2 separate regions of the Homo sapiens genome follow, and region 2 is linked to region 1. Evidence: promoter capture Hi-C in 16 types of primary human blood cells and fetal thymus (Javierre and others, 2016). All regions are on one chromosome and are shown on one strand. The core of a region is centred on a gene start or on the middle of the fragment in contact, and the rest is flanking DNA. Distances in the headings are between cores, read along the strand shown. Region 1 holds the start of HNF1A-AS1 (HNF1A antisense RNA 1). Region 2 holds the start of P2RX7 (purinergic receptor P2X 7).

Evidence for each region. The method cuts DNA at HindIII sites, captures the fragments that hold promoters and counts their contacts. A CHiCAGO score of 5 or more calls a contact.
Region 2: a contact is called between the fragment with the promoter of P2RX7 here and the fragment with the promoter of HNF1A-AS1 in region 1, in 1 of 17 cell types (neutrophils). The highest score is 5.3, in neutrophils.

What each region holds. Positions count from the first base shown.
Region 1 is chr12:120,969,058-120,976,304 of GRCh38, forward strand. It overlaps HNF1A-AS1 (HNF1A antisense RNA 1), which reads right to left and starts at 3,235. Exons shown (of 1, transcript NR_024345.1): 1 at 781-3,235. RefSeq lists an enhancer at 3,828-4,355. The HindIII fragment of the contact is 11,110 bases long and covers 744-7,247 here.
Region 2 is chr12:121,128,626-121,135,872 of GRCh38, forward strand. It overlaps P2RX7 (purinergic receptor P2X 7), which reads left to right and starts at 4,251. Exons shown (of 13, transcript NM_002562.6): 1 at 4,251-4,470. The coding sequence starts at 4,346. The region is part of intron 2 of LOC105370032 (a long non-coding RNA gene); the gene reads right to left. RefSeq lists an enhancer at 361-655. The HindIII fragment of the contact is 14,919 bases long and covers 1-7,247 here.

The DNA.
Region 1 (7,247 bases), core at 1,985-4,484:
GGCAAATAGAGTGGGTGAGGTCTGGGTATGGAGGGGCTGTGCAAGATGAGGCTGGAAAGATTCAAATCGAGGAGGGCTTTGAGTGCTAGGCTAAAGCATCAAAATGTACTCTTGCCTCTGGCATTTATTTGCAAAATAGTGGTACACGAGGTAATTGTAGGTGATATGGTACATGTAGGGAGAACATTCTCTTTTCAGTCCCTTCTAAAGTGCTTACATTGAGGAGAAAGTTTCAATTAGTTGCTAGTCTATCTTTAACACCCCTCTGAACACTGCCTAATTTCCTTTCAACATAGAGAAACCCTCCTTAGGCTTAGGGCCTTAGTGTGAAACAAGAACAAGTGTGAATGCCTCATTTCCATGTCTGAATGACTGCTTGCTATTTATGGCAAGGGATACTCTTTTTCTTTTTCTTTTTTTGAGACAGAGTCTCACTCCGTCACCCAGGCTGAAGTGCAGTGGCACGATCTCGGCTCGCAGCAACCTCCGCCTCCTGGATTCAGGTGATTTTTGTTCCTCAGCCACCCGAGTAGTTGGGATTACAGGCACGTGCCACTATGCCTGGCTAATTTTTGTATTTTTAGTAGAGACGGGGTCTCACCATGTTGGCCCTAGCCTCAAGTGGTCTTGAACCCCTAGCCTCAAGTGATCCTCCTGCCTGGCCTCCCAAATTGCTGGGATTACAGGTGTGAGCCACTGTGCCTGGCCGGGATACTGTTTTTTTGAGTATTAAAATTATATAAAGCTTTTCTTTTCTTTTTCTTTTTTTTTTTTTTTTTTGAGACGGAGTTTCGTTCTTGTTCCCCAGGCTGGAGTACAATGGGGCGATCTCGACTCACTGCAACCCCCGCCTCCTGGGTTCAAGCAATTCTCCTGCCACAGCCTCCCGAGTAGCTAGGATTACAGGCATGCGCCACCACGCCCAGCTAATTTTGTATTTTTAGTAGAGACGGAGTTTCTCCATGTTGGTCAGGCTGGTCTCGAACTCCCGACCTCAGGTGATCTGCCCACCTCGGCCTCCCAAAGTGCTGGGATTACAGGCATGAGCCACCGCTCCCGGCCAAAACTTTTCTTTTTAAAATAAGTTTAGTTTTAAAAAAGTGAGTTGACAGGAGCAAAACTGCTAAGTAAATAATGCAAAAGGCAGTGGTGCTCAAATATGGGAAAATAATATGCAGGTGATACCAGAGTCTTGCCTTTGGGAAATGCAGACCCAGGTCCTTTTGTCTTTAGAGCTCACCGGCAATGCGAGGTGTTTCAGGTAGAAGGAACAGCATCAATGGGGTGTTGGCTAGTGTTTAACAGCTGGCTCTCTGAAAAAGCAAAATAAAACACACACACACCAAATCTGATGGTCTGTTTCCATGATGTGAGTACCTCCAGCTGGGCCGAACTGACATCACTGAACACAGTGGAAAGTGATGACTGCAGTTGTCTCTCCTGGGAGCTTCAACACAGTACAGGCTGACAAAAGTGGGCAGGGGGTAAGGGCAGGTGGTGGGAGTGGCCTCTACGCCAGAGAAGGGAATGGAGAGGTCAGGCTGGCTAGAGAGTGGGGTTGAGTCGTCCATGCCCTTGAATGCCAGGATGAGGGCTAAAGAGTCAAATGGAATGGGTGACTTCATATGCAGAAGTTTTTACAAGAGAAGAGAACTCAGTTTGGCCAAGAGAAGTGGGGTCGTCATGTTGGTAATCACGTAACAGTGATCGTTCAGTCATGCGGAATGCTTTCAAGGTGTTGGACACTGTTCATTTTTTATTTTTAGTTTTTGAGGCAGGGTCTCACTCTGTCGCCCAGGCTGGAGTGCAGTGGTGCAATCTTGGCTCACTGCAACCTCTGTCTCCTGGGTTCAAGCGATTCTTCTGCCTCAGCCTCCCTAGTAGCTCGGATTACAGTTGTTTGCCACCACGCCCGGCTAATTTTTGTATTTTTAGTAGAAATGAGGTTTCGCCATGTTGGCCAGACTGGTCTCGAACTCCTGACCTCAAATGATCCACCTGCCTCGGCCTCCCAAAGTGCTGGGATTGCAGGTGTGATCCACCACACCTGGCCGCTTGCAGGGTGTTGGACACTGTGGATATCACCTCATTCATTCTCCTAACAACCCAAGAGAAGAGGAACTGAGGCAAAGAGAAGTTAAGCAAGTTGCCCAAGGCCATACGGCTAGTAAACGGCAGAACGAGGCTCAAACCCAGGCACTCTGGCTCTAGAGTGTGTGTTCCTAACCACTGTGCTCTAGCACCTCGGAACCTTAGTCTCTTCATCTGCAAAATCAGCACTGAGGTGACAAGGCCAACGAGCAGAGGGTTGGAGTTACCCAGAACAACAACAACAACAAAAGTAATAGTAACACATATTTGGTCAAGGCTTAGATTCTGGCGTCATGGGGATCTGGGTTCAAATCCTAATTCTGCCTTAGCCGATTAGGGTCCCTATCCTCTTAAAGCCTTGGTTTCCTTATCTGTAAAATGGGGATATCATGAAGCTGTTAGATGTTAAATGAGAAAATGAATGAGAAAATTGCATGTACTGTCCATAAAGTTGAAAAGATAATAGGGGTGGGAAGGAGAACAGTCCGAGTTTGAATGCAGGTGGGCCCTGGGGCATTGTCTGGACTGAAGGACAAGGGTCAGTTGAATTGCCAAAGAGCTCTGAGACTGGCTGAAGGGACACTCGTCTTGTGCTAGCTGCTAAGACCAAGGGGAAGCCTGTGCCTCGCCCGAATTTTAGTCTTGCAAACAGCTGCTCACCCAGTAGGAGAGAATTGTGATAAAACTCATAGCCACCATTTCTTGAATATCTACTATGCCCCGGGACACAGCAGACTATTTTAGAGAATTTGCGAAGGAAACACAGTGACATCTGTTGGACACCTTGCAAACTACCAGCTCAGGATAGTTAAATTTGAATGTTAGATGGAGGGAACTTCCTTTCCACAATGACATGATTTTGTAAAGCTGAGTGTATGGCAGTTGTCATGATTAAAAGCAAGTGCCATGCAGAAGTTATTGTGTAACAGGAAATGAGATTAGATAGCGTCCAATCTAATCTCAAGGTTTGAGTAGCTGTGGACAGCCCAACAGGCACAGGCCTCCCGTTAGTACATCCATACGAGAAGTTAAGAATGAGTGAAAATAGTTTTTTTTTTTTTAATTTATGTGCATTATTTTTTTCAAGCAGCTACCTTGTTAGGACATACTTAATAGTTATCTTGGCCTACCTACTGCACTTACTAAACAACTGTTCACTTTTTAATTTTTAATTTTCAGATTTTTTTGAGACGGATTGTTACTCTATCGCCCAGGCTGGAGTGCAGTGGCGTGATCTCTGCTCACTGCAACCTCCGCCTCCCGGGTTCAAGCTATTCTCCTGCCTCAGCCTCCTGAGTATCTGGGACTACAGGTGTGCGCCACCACATCCAGCTAATTTTTGTATTTTTAGTAGAGATGGGGTTTTACCATGTTGGCCAGGCTGATCTGGAACTCCTGACCTCAGGTGATCCACCTGCCTCGGTCTCCCAAAGCGCTGGGATTACAGGTATGAGCTACCATGTCCGGCTGTTCCTTTTTTTTTTTTTCTTTTTCTTTTTTTTTTGAGACGGAGTTTCTCTCTGTCACCCAGGCTGGAGTGCAGTGTCATGATCTCAGCTCACTGCAACCTCTGCCTTCTGGGTTCAAGTGATTCTCCTGCCTCAGCCTTCCGACTAGCTGGGATTATAGGTGCCCACTGACAAGCCTGGCTAATTTTTGTATTTTTAGTAGAGACGGGTTTTCACCATGTTGGCCAGGCTGGTCTCGAACTCCTGACCTCAAGTGATCCACCCACTTCGGTCTCCCAAAGTGCTGGGATGACAGGCATGAGCCACTGCGCCCAGCCACTGTTCGCTTTTTTTCTCAGTGGTTCTCTAGTCCATTGCCTTAACCACTCACCATGACTACAGCTCTTATTTGCAGTGACTCTCAAGAATGCAAATGCAAATGCCATTCCTGACCTCGAGTTAATTCAGCTTTGTCCCCTGAGCATGGGGGAAAGGCAGGCTGGGGGCTGGAACTTTCTGCTTGTGTACCTATCTCTTTAGACTCTGGAGGCTCCTCCCCAATCTCTGTCATTCCCTCTCCAACCAAATCCACCTGCCGTCCCAGACTCAAATGCTCAGCCACCTAACTGCCTGAGGACCCAGCAGTTAATGAGTTTACATGCTGGGGGCAGGAGTCAGGGCCAACACTCCTTGGTTCCTCTGGCTCCCTGGAAAGGGAAAGTCACCAAGAGGCAGCTGCAGGCAGCAAAGAGAATAAGCAGGAGAACCTCAAAGCCACAAAGGGACAGCACACAGCATCTTCCCTGTTTAGCCTGGACTTGAGAATGCTGTCCCCAGCAGTAAGCTGCTCAACCTCAAAGCAACTTGCACGGGGGTTTACAAAAAAATGCACTTGGCCGGGCACGGTGGCTCACGCCTATAATCCCAACAGTTTGGGAGGCCGAGGTGGGTGGATCTTTTGAGGCCAGGAGTTTGAGACCAGCCTGGCAAACATGGTGAAACCCTGTCTCTACCAAAAATACAAAAATTAGCCAGGCATGGTGGTGTGTGCCTGTAGTCCCAGCTACTCAGGAGGCTAAGGTAGGAGGATTGCTCGAACCCAGGAGGCAGAGGTTACAGTGAGCTGAGATCGCACCACTGTACTCCAGCCTGGGTGACAAAGTGAGGCTCTGTCTCAAAAATAAAAATAAAACATAAATGCACTGGAGGAAAGAGGGTACCACTCTCCTTAAGGCGGGGGCTGCCAACTTGTCCTGCACAGCCCGTCCGCCTGCCTCAGGTGGACTTAAAGCCCAGCTCTGAGGGACTCTGAGCAGTCATTTAACCTCTCTGAGCCTCTCTTTCCTCCCCTGCAGAAGGGGGATTATAACAGTTCCTAATTCATGAGTTGTTCTTGGAGTGAAATACATTACTGGCCAGGTGAGATGGCTCATGCCTGTAATCCCAACACTTTGGGAGGCTGAGGTGAGAGGATTGCTTGAGCCCAGGAGTTCGAGACCAGCCTGGGCAACAAAGCAAGACCCCCATCTCTAAGAAAAGTAAATAAATAGGCAGGGTGCAGTGGCTCACCCCTGTAATCCCAGCACCTTGGGAGGACGAGGTGGGCAGATGGCTTGGGCTCAGGAGTTTGAGACCAGCCTGGGCAATGTGGCAAACTCTTGTCTCTACTAAAAAATACAAAAATTAGCGAGGCATGGTGGCACACGCTTGTAGTCCCAGCTATTGGAGAGGCTGAGGTGGGAGGATCACGGGAGCCCCAGAAGCATAGGTTGCAGTTTGCCAAGATTGTGCCACTGCACTCCAGCTCGGGCGACAGAAGGAGACCCTGTCTCAAAAAACAAACAAAAAAGATAAATATATAAATGAAGCTGGGCATGATGGTGCGTACCTGTAGTTCCAGCTACTTGGGATGCTGAGGTGGGAGGATTGCTTGAAGCCAGGAGTTCTAGGCTGAAGTGAGCTATGATCATGCCAGCCTGGGTGACAGAGTAAGAATCTGGCTCTTAAAAAAATAAAAAGTAAAATGGAACAGGTGAAGTTATTTTCTTTAATTTTTAAAATAAAAAGTTATTTTTATAAATAAAATTTTAATTTAAACCAAATTATTTTAAACTAAATATAACATTATATTTGTATAATATATAAATAATATTTTAATTAAATCTAATTTAAAATTATTCTAAATGTTAACTTTTTTTTTTTTTTTTTTTTTTTGAGAGGGAGTCTCGCTCTGTCGCCCAGGCTGGAGTACAGTGGCGCGATCTCGGCTCACTGCAAGCTCCGCATCCTGGGTTCACGCCATTCTCCTGCCTCAGCCTCCTAAGTAGCTGGGACTACAGGCGCCCGCCACCACGCCAGGCTAATTTCTTGTATTTTTAGTAGAGACGGGGTTTCACCATGTTAGGCAGGATGGTCTCAATCTCCTGACCTTGTGATCCGCCCACCTCGGCCTCCCAAAGTGCTGAGATTACAGGCGTGAGCCACCGCGCCCGGCCTAAATGTTAACTTTTAAATTGTCTTTTTTTTTTTTTTTTTTTTTTTTGAGACAGTGTCTTGCTGTATCACCCAGGCCAGAGTGCAGTGGCATGATCTTGGTTCACTGCCACCTCCGCCTCCCAGGTTCAAGTGATTTTCCTGCCTCAGCCTCCTGAGGTTAATTTTTGTATTTTTATTACAGATGGGGTTTCACCATATTGGTCAGGGTGGTCTCGAACTCCTGACCTCAGGTGATCTACCCACCTTGGCCTCCCAAAAGTGCTGGGATTACAGGCGTTAGCCACCACGCCCGGCCAAAATTTTCTTAATTTAAAAATTTAACTCAATATATTTTTTAAAAATTATCATTTCAAGAAGTGACATTAGCCATCTTTCAAGTGCTTGGTAGCCACATGTGGCTGGTGGGTGAGGGCAGGGCCTGTTTTTTTTTTTTTTTTTTTTTTTGAGACAGAGTTTTGCTCTTGTTGCCCAAACTGGAGTGCAATGGCGTGATCTCGGCTCACTGCAACCTCCGCCTCCTGGGTTCAAGTGATTCTCCTGTCTCAGCCTCCTGCGTGCATCACCATGCCCAGCTTTTTAAATTTTTAGTAGAAATGGGGTTTCATCATGTTAGCCAGGCTGGTCTCAAATTCCTGACCTCAGGTGATCCACCCACCTCGGCCTCCCAAAGTACTGGGATTACAGGCATGAGCCACTGTGCCTGGCCACAGGGCCTGTATTTAGATGTTTGCTATTTTGTTCAGCACAGATTATTTTACATTAGTTAAAAAATATTTTTTGAGGCCGGGCATGGTGGCTCACACCTGTAATCCCAGCACTTTGTGGGGCTGAGATGGGAGGATCTCTTGAGTCCAGGAGTTTGAGACCAGCCTGGGCAACATGGTGAAACTCCGTCTCTACCAAAAATACAAAAAAAAAAAAAAAAAAAATTAGCTGGGTGCAGTGGTGCACACCTGTAGTCCCAGCTACTCGGGAGGCTGAGGTAGAAGGATGATTTGAGCCCAGGAGGCGGAGGTTGCAGTGAGCCCAGATCATGCCATTGCACTCTAGCTTGGGCAACAGAGCCAAACCCTGTCTCAAAAAATAAAAATAAATAAAAATGAAAAAAAAAATCAGAATTGCACACATGAAATGGGTGAATTGTATGGTAAGTATATCTCAATAAAGCTACAACAATATTTTTATTGATTTACATACCATCAAACTCGCCCT
Region 2 (7,247 bases), core at 3,001-5,500, 160 kb after region 1:
GGTGGCACGCGCCTGTAGTCTTAGCTACTAGCGAGGCTGAGGCAGGAGAATCGCTTGAACCCGGGAGGCGGAGGTTGCAGTGAGCCGAGATCGTGCCACTGCACTCCAGCCTGGGCGACAGAGCAAGACACTGGAAATAAATAAAACTAATTAATTAATTAAAGAGCAGGTCACGGCTGTGGGCATCTGGGCTCAGACCCCCTCAGGCCCTCTGGAGACTGCCTAGACTTGTCTCAGAGTTGTCCCACCTGGGGGAGGAACGGGTATTTAACCAGCAGTCCCTCAGCCTTGGAGCCTCTATTCTCTGAGAGTCACATTCTCATTCTCTCTCTCCCTCTCTCTCTCTCTCTTCCCACCCCCCTTCTCTCTCTCTCTCTCTCCCGCCATCTTCCTTTCTTTCCTCCCTCCCTTCTCCCCCAACGGAGGTTGGCCCTTGACGCCCTGTGTGATTATGGCCCCGCCCACAGCCATAGCTGATTGGACCAGGGATAAAGAATTAGGCCAATCAGATTCATTCCCCTTGAGTTCTGGAACTGGGCAGGGGATCTGGGCTTGCATTTGAACTGTGGAACCTAACTTGGAGAGCATTGCTGAACCACGTGCCCTGGGAGAAACAGAGGAAGCCAGTGTTTAGAGAGACTCGCAATGGGCACACAGAGACAAACAGAGGCGGGCTTCAGACAAACTGAAAGAGCAACCTCAGCACAGGACAGTTTGGTTTCTGATTCTATTAATAGGTTCTCATGAGGTTGGGCACATTTCCTGCACTTGCAGTCTGTGAGATAAGTGTTTCCTCAAAAAAAAAAACTCCCTTTTCTGCTGAAGAATGTCACTTGATTTTCTGTAAATTGTAAACACACCCACACACTCACAAGACTAAGAAATCCACCGTTCAATCCCCAATTTTTTTTTTTTTGGTAACTTTATATTCCTTCCATCACGAGGTCAGAACATTTCATTGCTGCTGTGAGACTCTCCAGAGTTCTCATTAAAGAGTTCAAGACAATGGCTGTTCCGTTAGCCTCGATCTCTGAGTGATTACAGAGAGCTGAGCCATCTGGGAGACCCATGATGGACATATAGTGTGAGTGAGAATTAATTCATCACTGCTATAAGCCATGAGACACTGAGAGTGCTTTGTTATTGCAGCATAACCTGTCCTATCCTGATAGAATCATAAGAAGTGCTGAGAGACAATTTGCTGGAACTGATATTTACAGGGAGAAGAGAGCCAGAGAAAGATAAGACAAAGATTGGATGCAGTGGCTTATGCCTGTAACCCCAGCACTTTGGAAGGCTGAGTCAGGAGGATCACTTGAAGCCAGGAGTTCGAGACCAGCCTGGGCAGCATAGCAAGACCCTATCTCTACAAAATTAAAAAAAAAATTAACGAGGCTTGGTGGCATGTGCCTGTGGTCCCAGCTACTCAGGAGGCTGTGGTAGGGGGATCACTGGAGCCCAGAAGTTTGAAGCTGCAGTGAGCCATGATTGCGCCACTGCACTCCAGCCTGGACGACAGAGCAAGACCCAGTCTCTAAAATAAATTAATTAAATTAATTTTTTAAAAAGAAAGATAAGATAAAGAGTCATAGAAGTACAAATGAGAAACCAGGAGAACATGGGACCCAGGAAAGTCATGGAAACCAAGGGAAAATACTGGTCCAAGATGCAGAAAGTAGCCAGTGATGTTGAATGCATCCAAGAGATCAAGTAACATAAGGAATAAAATATATCCACCCAGTCTGGCAACTGAGAAGTCTTTGGTAACCTCTTTGAGAACAGAATCCATGGAGTGGAGGAGGTAGCAGTGATGAAATAGCGGACAAGGGCTGAAGGAGTGGAGAGGGGAGAGCATGAGGGACCAGTGCAAGAGTGCAGCAGAAAGACAACAAACAGGCCGGGTGTAGTGGCTCACGCCTGTAATCCCAACACTTTGGTAGGCTAAGGCGGGCAGATCGCTTGTGACCAGGAGTTCGAGACCAACCTAGCCAACATGGTGAAACCCCATCTCTACTAAAAACACAAAAATCAGCTGAGCGTGCGCATGGCTGTAATTGCAGATACTCATGAGGCTGAGGCACAAGAATCGCTTGAACCCAGGAGGCAGGGGTTGCAGTGACCCAAAGTCTTGCCACTGCACTACAGCCTGGGCAACAGGGGGAGACTCCATCTCAAAAAAACAAAAAAAAAAAAAAAAAAAAAAAAAGAAAGAAAGAAAAGAGAAAGAAAGAAAGACAAGAAAATAGATGTCTTTGAGTGGTAGCAAGAGCAACACTGAAGTGATTTGCCTATTCTGGACATTTCCTATAAATGGAGTCGTAAAAGATGTATCCTTTTGTGTCTGGCCTCTTTCACTTAAGCGTAGTGTTTTCAAGGTTCATCCATGTTGGAGCATGGGTCAGTGTTTCATTCCTTTTTATGGCTGAATAATATTCCCTTGTATGGGCTTTCGTGCTTTTGTGTATCCATCCATCAGCTGATGGACATTTGACTTGTCTGCCTGTTCACTGCCATATCTACTATTCCTGGTGCTCTTGGGAATGAGTGAATGAATAGCATAAACAGAGCTGTCCAGGGTCACAGAGCTGGTAAGATGTGAAGCCAGGATCGGAAGCCAGGCCATTAGTCCCCTAGAGCCTATGTTCTAAGCATCAGGCTTTACCTGTGAATCTCCTCTTTTTACAGATGAAGATGACCGTATCACTCAGATTCCCGGCAGGAAAGCAATGGCATACTCAAGTGGGGTAACTAATGATGGAACCATTTACAAAGGTGTGGACAGAGTTAAGAAAAAGCAATAGGAGATAGTGAGCTTCCTGGGGCTGGTAAGAGTGGGGAGCCCTTACCACTCCCAGGACTAAAGGAGGGAGTGGTGCCCAGAAGCCCTGCCTATATGCAACTGAGAAGGGCAGGGCCAGGGAGTCACGTCCATCCTCACTGCTCTCCAGTCTCCTGAACTGGAAGCCAGAAGGTGAGGGGAACCCTGATGCAGTTTGTATGTGTGAGAAAGTACAATTAGTTTAGACTGAAAAACTGAAAATCTACCCGGCCACTTAGCAGGCTGGAATAACAGAAAGGGATCAAGCCAGCTGTAAAGATAACAGGGAACAATAATTCTCTGTAGCTGTAAAGTGATAATACAACCCTGCATCTTTGAGTGACTGCTGAAACATTGTCCTTTAAAATCAGAGACCTTCAGAAACTTTGCTGTTTGAAATTACATGACTAAGACTGAAATATTCCAATTTTGCCTGGAAGATTTAAGTCATCTTGACACAGAGAAGCAGCCTCAATTTACAACTCAGGAGCAGAGCTTCAGATAAAGATTTTCTGGACACATTTGACATGTATCTTAGCTATGTTGCTTCCTAGGAAACAGGGCCCTGGGTCCTCTTTGCAATCCAGACTGAAGTTGACTGCTTTGTACAAACCTGTTTTGCTTTGAGTCCATCAAAACATGACTTCATTTAGATTTTATCTCAACTCCACTTTCCTCGGAATCCTATAATAAATTGCTGTTTTCCTTTGTTTGGTGATGTGCGTAGCTCTTCTGGTGGGTGGTGTCCCTCACTGAATAGGTCAACAAACCTAACTTTGTTGGACTGCCACTGTGTCCCTGGTGATCTTTGGCTGATTGGTCTAGGTCATAGATCGACCTGCCGGGGTGCAGAGGAGGGTGGAGAGTAACTCAGAGGGTCAAGCATGAAAGATCTGGCAGAAAAATAAAGCCCCTCCACCCCCACCACCCCTACCCCTGCAAATCTGATTTCCCCCACCAACTGCAGACCAGAGTATTATAAGGGGCGGTGGAAGAAGAGGGGGAGATCTTCATTTACCCAGAGCTCCTATACATCAGGGGCTGAATAAAGGGTTGTAGAAATGAATGAATCAATCTCTGAGTGGGGCTTCAGGCAATGGAAAGATCTCAGTCCTTTTCTGAGGCATAATGGAAGCTCCCAGTCTTGTGACATTTGCAAGGCTGCCCCTTTCTCCCAAGAGACATGAGACCAAAAAAGTGAAAGGAAAGGGGGGAAAAGGGAGAATTCTAAAAATGCCCATCCTCTGAACACCATCTTTGTGTAGGCATCTGGGGGAGGCCAGCTGGGGTGAGGTCATCTGCCAGCCAGGCCCGTAGGACTTGGCGCTTCTTGTTTATCACAGCCACATGTGGGGCCACTGCCAGGGCCCGCCCCAACTCTGCAGTCATTGGAGGAGCTTGAAGTTAAAGACTCCTGCTAAAAACCAGTACGTTTCATTTTGCAGTTACTGGGAGGGGGCTTGCTGTGGCCCTGTCAGGAAGAGTAGAGCTCTGGTCCAGCTCCGCGCAGGGAGGGAGGCTGTCACCATGCCGGCCTGCTGCAGCTGCAGTGATGTTTTCCAGTATGAGACGAACAAAGTCACTCGGATCCAGAGCATGAATTATGGCACCATTAAGTGGTTCTTCCACGTGATCATCTTTTCCTACGTTTGGTAAGTGGGATCTGGGGAGGACCCAGATCTCTGCAGTGGCCGACAGCACAGAAAGCCCCAGCGGGCAGCTTCAGGTGCACATTCTGAATCTCACATGGTTTTCGAATCTGAGACGTGCTCTCACAGCCAGCTGGGCGGGAGGGAGGAAGCAGCAGCAGGCAAGAGGAAACGGTGCCAGGCTGCAGCAGAGAGAAGCCACAGGACAAGCGGGATTCCTTTCTGCTCTACTTCAGGCCCGCCAGGGCGCGCAGGGCAGGGCGTGCCTGGGGAAGGTAGGAAAGCGCAGGGCAACACCCTGGATCCCCAGGGAGGAGGCGAGGATCTCAGGGCACGCCTGGTGATCATGCTGGCATCTGAGTCACCATGCTTGGGAGGAATAGGACCAGGCTTGAAAATGTGTTATAACTTTAGGTCCTCACCAACGTCAGGAAGGCCCTGCTTTTTGGTTTTTGTTTCTTCTAAAAGAAACTTACTGAGATATAATTTATACACCATACAATTGACCCATTTAAAGGGTACCATTTAATGATTTTCAGATTATTCCCAGAGTTGTGCAACCATCCCCACAATCAATTTTAGAATATTTTAATCGACTCAAAAGGAATCCCACACTCCTTCACCATCATTTCCAACACTGTTCCTCCTCCTTCCCACCCATCAATTTCCTTTCTGCCTCTATGGATTTGCCGATTCTGGACATTTCATATAAATGGAATCACATAATATGTGGTCCTTTGTGGCACTTAGCGTGTTTTCAATGCTCATCCATGTTGTAGCATGTGTTGATACTTCATTCAATTTTTTTTTTTAAAGAGACGGGGTCTCACTATTTTGTCCAGGCTGGTCTCAAACTCCTGGACTCAAGTGATCTGCCTGCCTCGGCCTCCCAAAGTGTCAGGATTACAGGCGTGAGCCATTGCACCCGGCTGATACTTCATTCCTTTTTACGGCTGAGTAGTACTCCATTGCATGGATAGACCACTTTTTTCTATCCATTCATCCATTGATGGACATTGGGGTTGTTTCTCTTTTTTGGCTATCATGAATAATGCCACATGAACATTTGTGTACAAGGTTTTATGTGGATATATATTCTCCTTTCTCTCGAATATGTACCTAAGAGTAAAAATTGCTAGGTCATATGTTAACTATGTTTCACCTTTGGGGGGAATGTGGAGCTGAATTTCACAGCAGCTGCAGTTTTTTACATTCCTATCAGCAGAGTATGAGGGATCCAATTTCTCCACATCCTCACCAACGCTTGTTATCGTCTGTCTTTTTGGGTTTTGTTGTTGTCATTTTGTTTTTGTCTTTGAGATGAAGTCTTGCTCTGTTGCCCAGGCTGGAGTGCAGTGGCGCAATCTTGGCTCACTGCAACCTCCACCTCCCCGGTTCAAGCGATTCTCCTGCCTCAGCCTCATGAGTAGCTGGGATTACAGGTGTGCGTCACCACTCCTCACTAATTTTTGTATTTTTAGTAGAGATGAGGTTTCGCCATGTAGGCCAGGCTGGTCTCAAACTCCTGACCTCAAGTGATCCGCCCACCTTGGCCTCCCAAAGTGCTGGGATTACAGGCATGAGCCGCCACGCCCGGCTGATTGTCTGTCTTTTTTATTATAGCCATGCTAGTGGGTGTGAAGTGGTAGTTCATTGTGGTTGTGATTTGAATTTCCCTGATGGTGAGTGCCTCTTATTCTCTGTGCTGATTGATAATGATGATGAAGGCAATTTGTATCTATAGAGTGGCAGTGTAGTTTACTAAGAGTTAGGGTAACTTATTTCATAGTACTGGCTATGTCTTCTGGGCCAAGTCATTAACTTCTCTGAGCCTCAGTTTCTGCATCTGTTCATAGGGTTGTGGCAATTAACCAAAAAAAAAAGGCATGAACAGCCCTTATCATGATGACTGACATAGGATAAGAGCTCCATAACTAGTATCTATTTTTAAAAATAATCTTTTTAAGTCTGGGAGTGGTGGCTCACACCTGTAATCCCAACACTTTGGGAGGCCAAGGCGGGTGGATCACGAAGTCAGGAGTTTGAGACCAGCCTGGCCAATATGGTGAAACCCCATCTCTACTAAAAATACAAAAATTAGTGGGGAGTGGTGGTGCACACCTGTAATCCCAGCTACTAGGGAGGCTGAGGCAGGAGAATCGCTTGAACCCGGAGGCGGAGGTTGCAGTGAGCCAAGATCAAGCCACTGCACTCCAGCCTGGGTGACAGAGCAAGACTCCATCTCAAAATAATAATAATAGTAATAATTTTTTTGATTATATAATAGTATATATGTATATAAAATACATGTATGTATTTTTATCTATATCCTCTGCTCTGACCCTCAAAGTAACCACGTCCAAGTTCAGGATTTGAAATCTGGAAACGTGGATTCAAAAATCCTTCACCTCTTTGAGCCTTGGTTTCATCATCTGTAAAATGGGGAGAATTGTTGATAGGAATATTAAATGAACTAATAAATGCAAAGCTGTTTGAGAAATATATGGCATATAGTAATCCCTGATTAAGTGTTAGTTCTTATTATTAATAATGCTATTATTAGGATTATTATTATTCGATTCATATGTTTACTGTTCAACAAATATTGAATGATAAACATATATGCTGGGTCCGGCATGGTGGCCCATGCCTGTAATTCCAGCACTTTGGGAGGCCAAGGCGGGCAGGTCACTTGAGGTCAAGAGTTTGAGACCAGCCTGGCCAACGTGGTGGAAACTCCATCTGTGCTAAAAATACAAAAATTAGCCGGGCATGGTGGT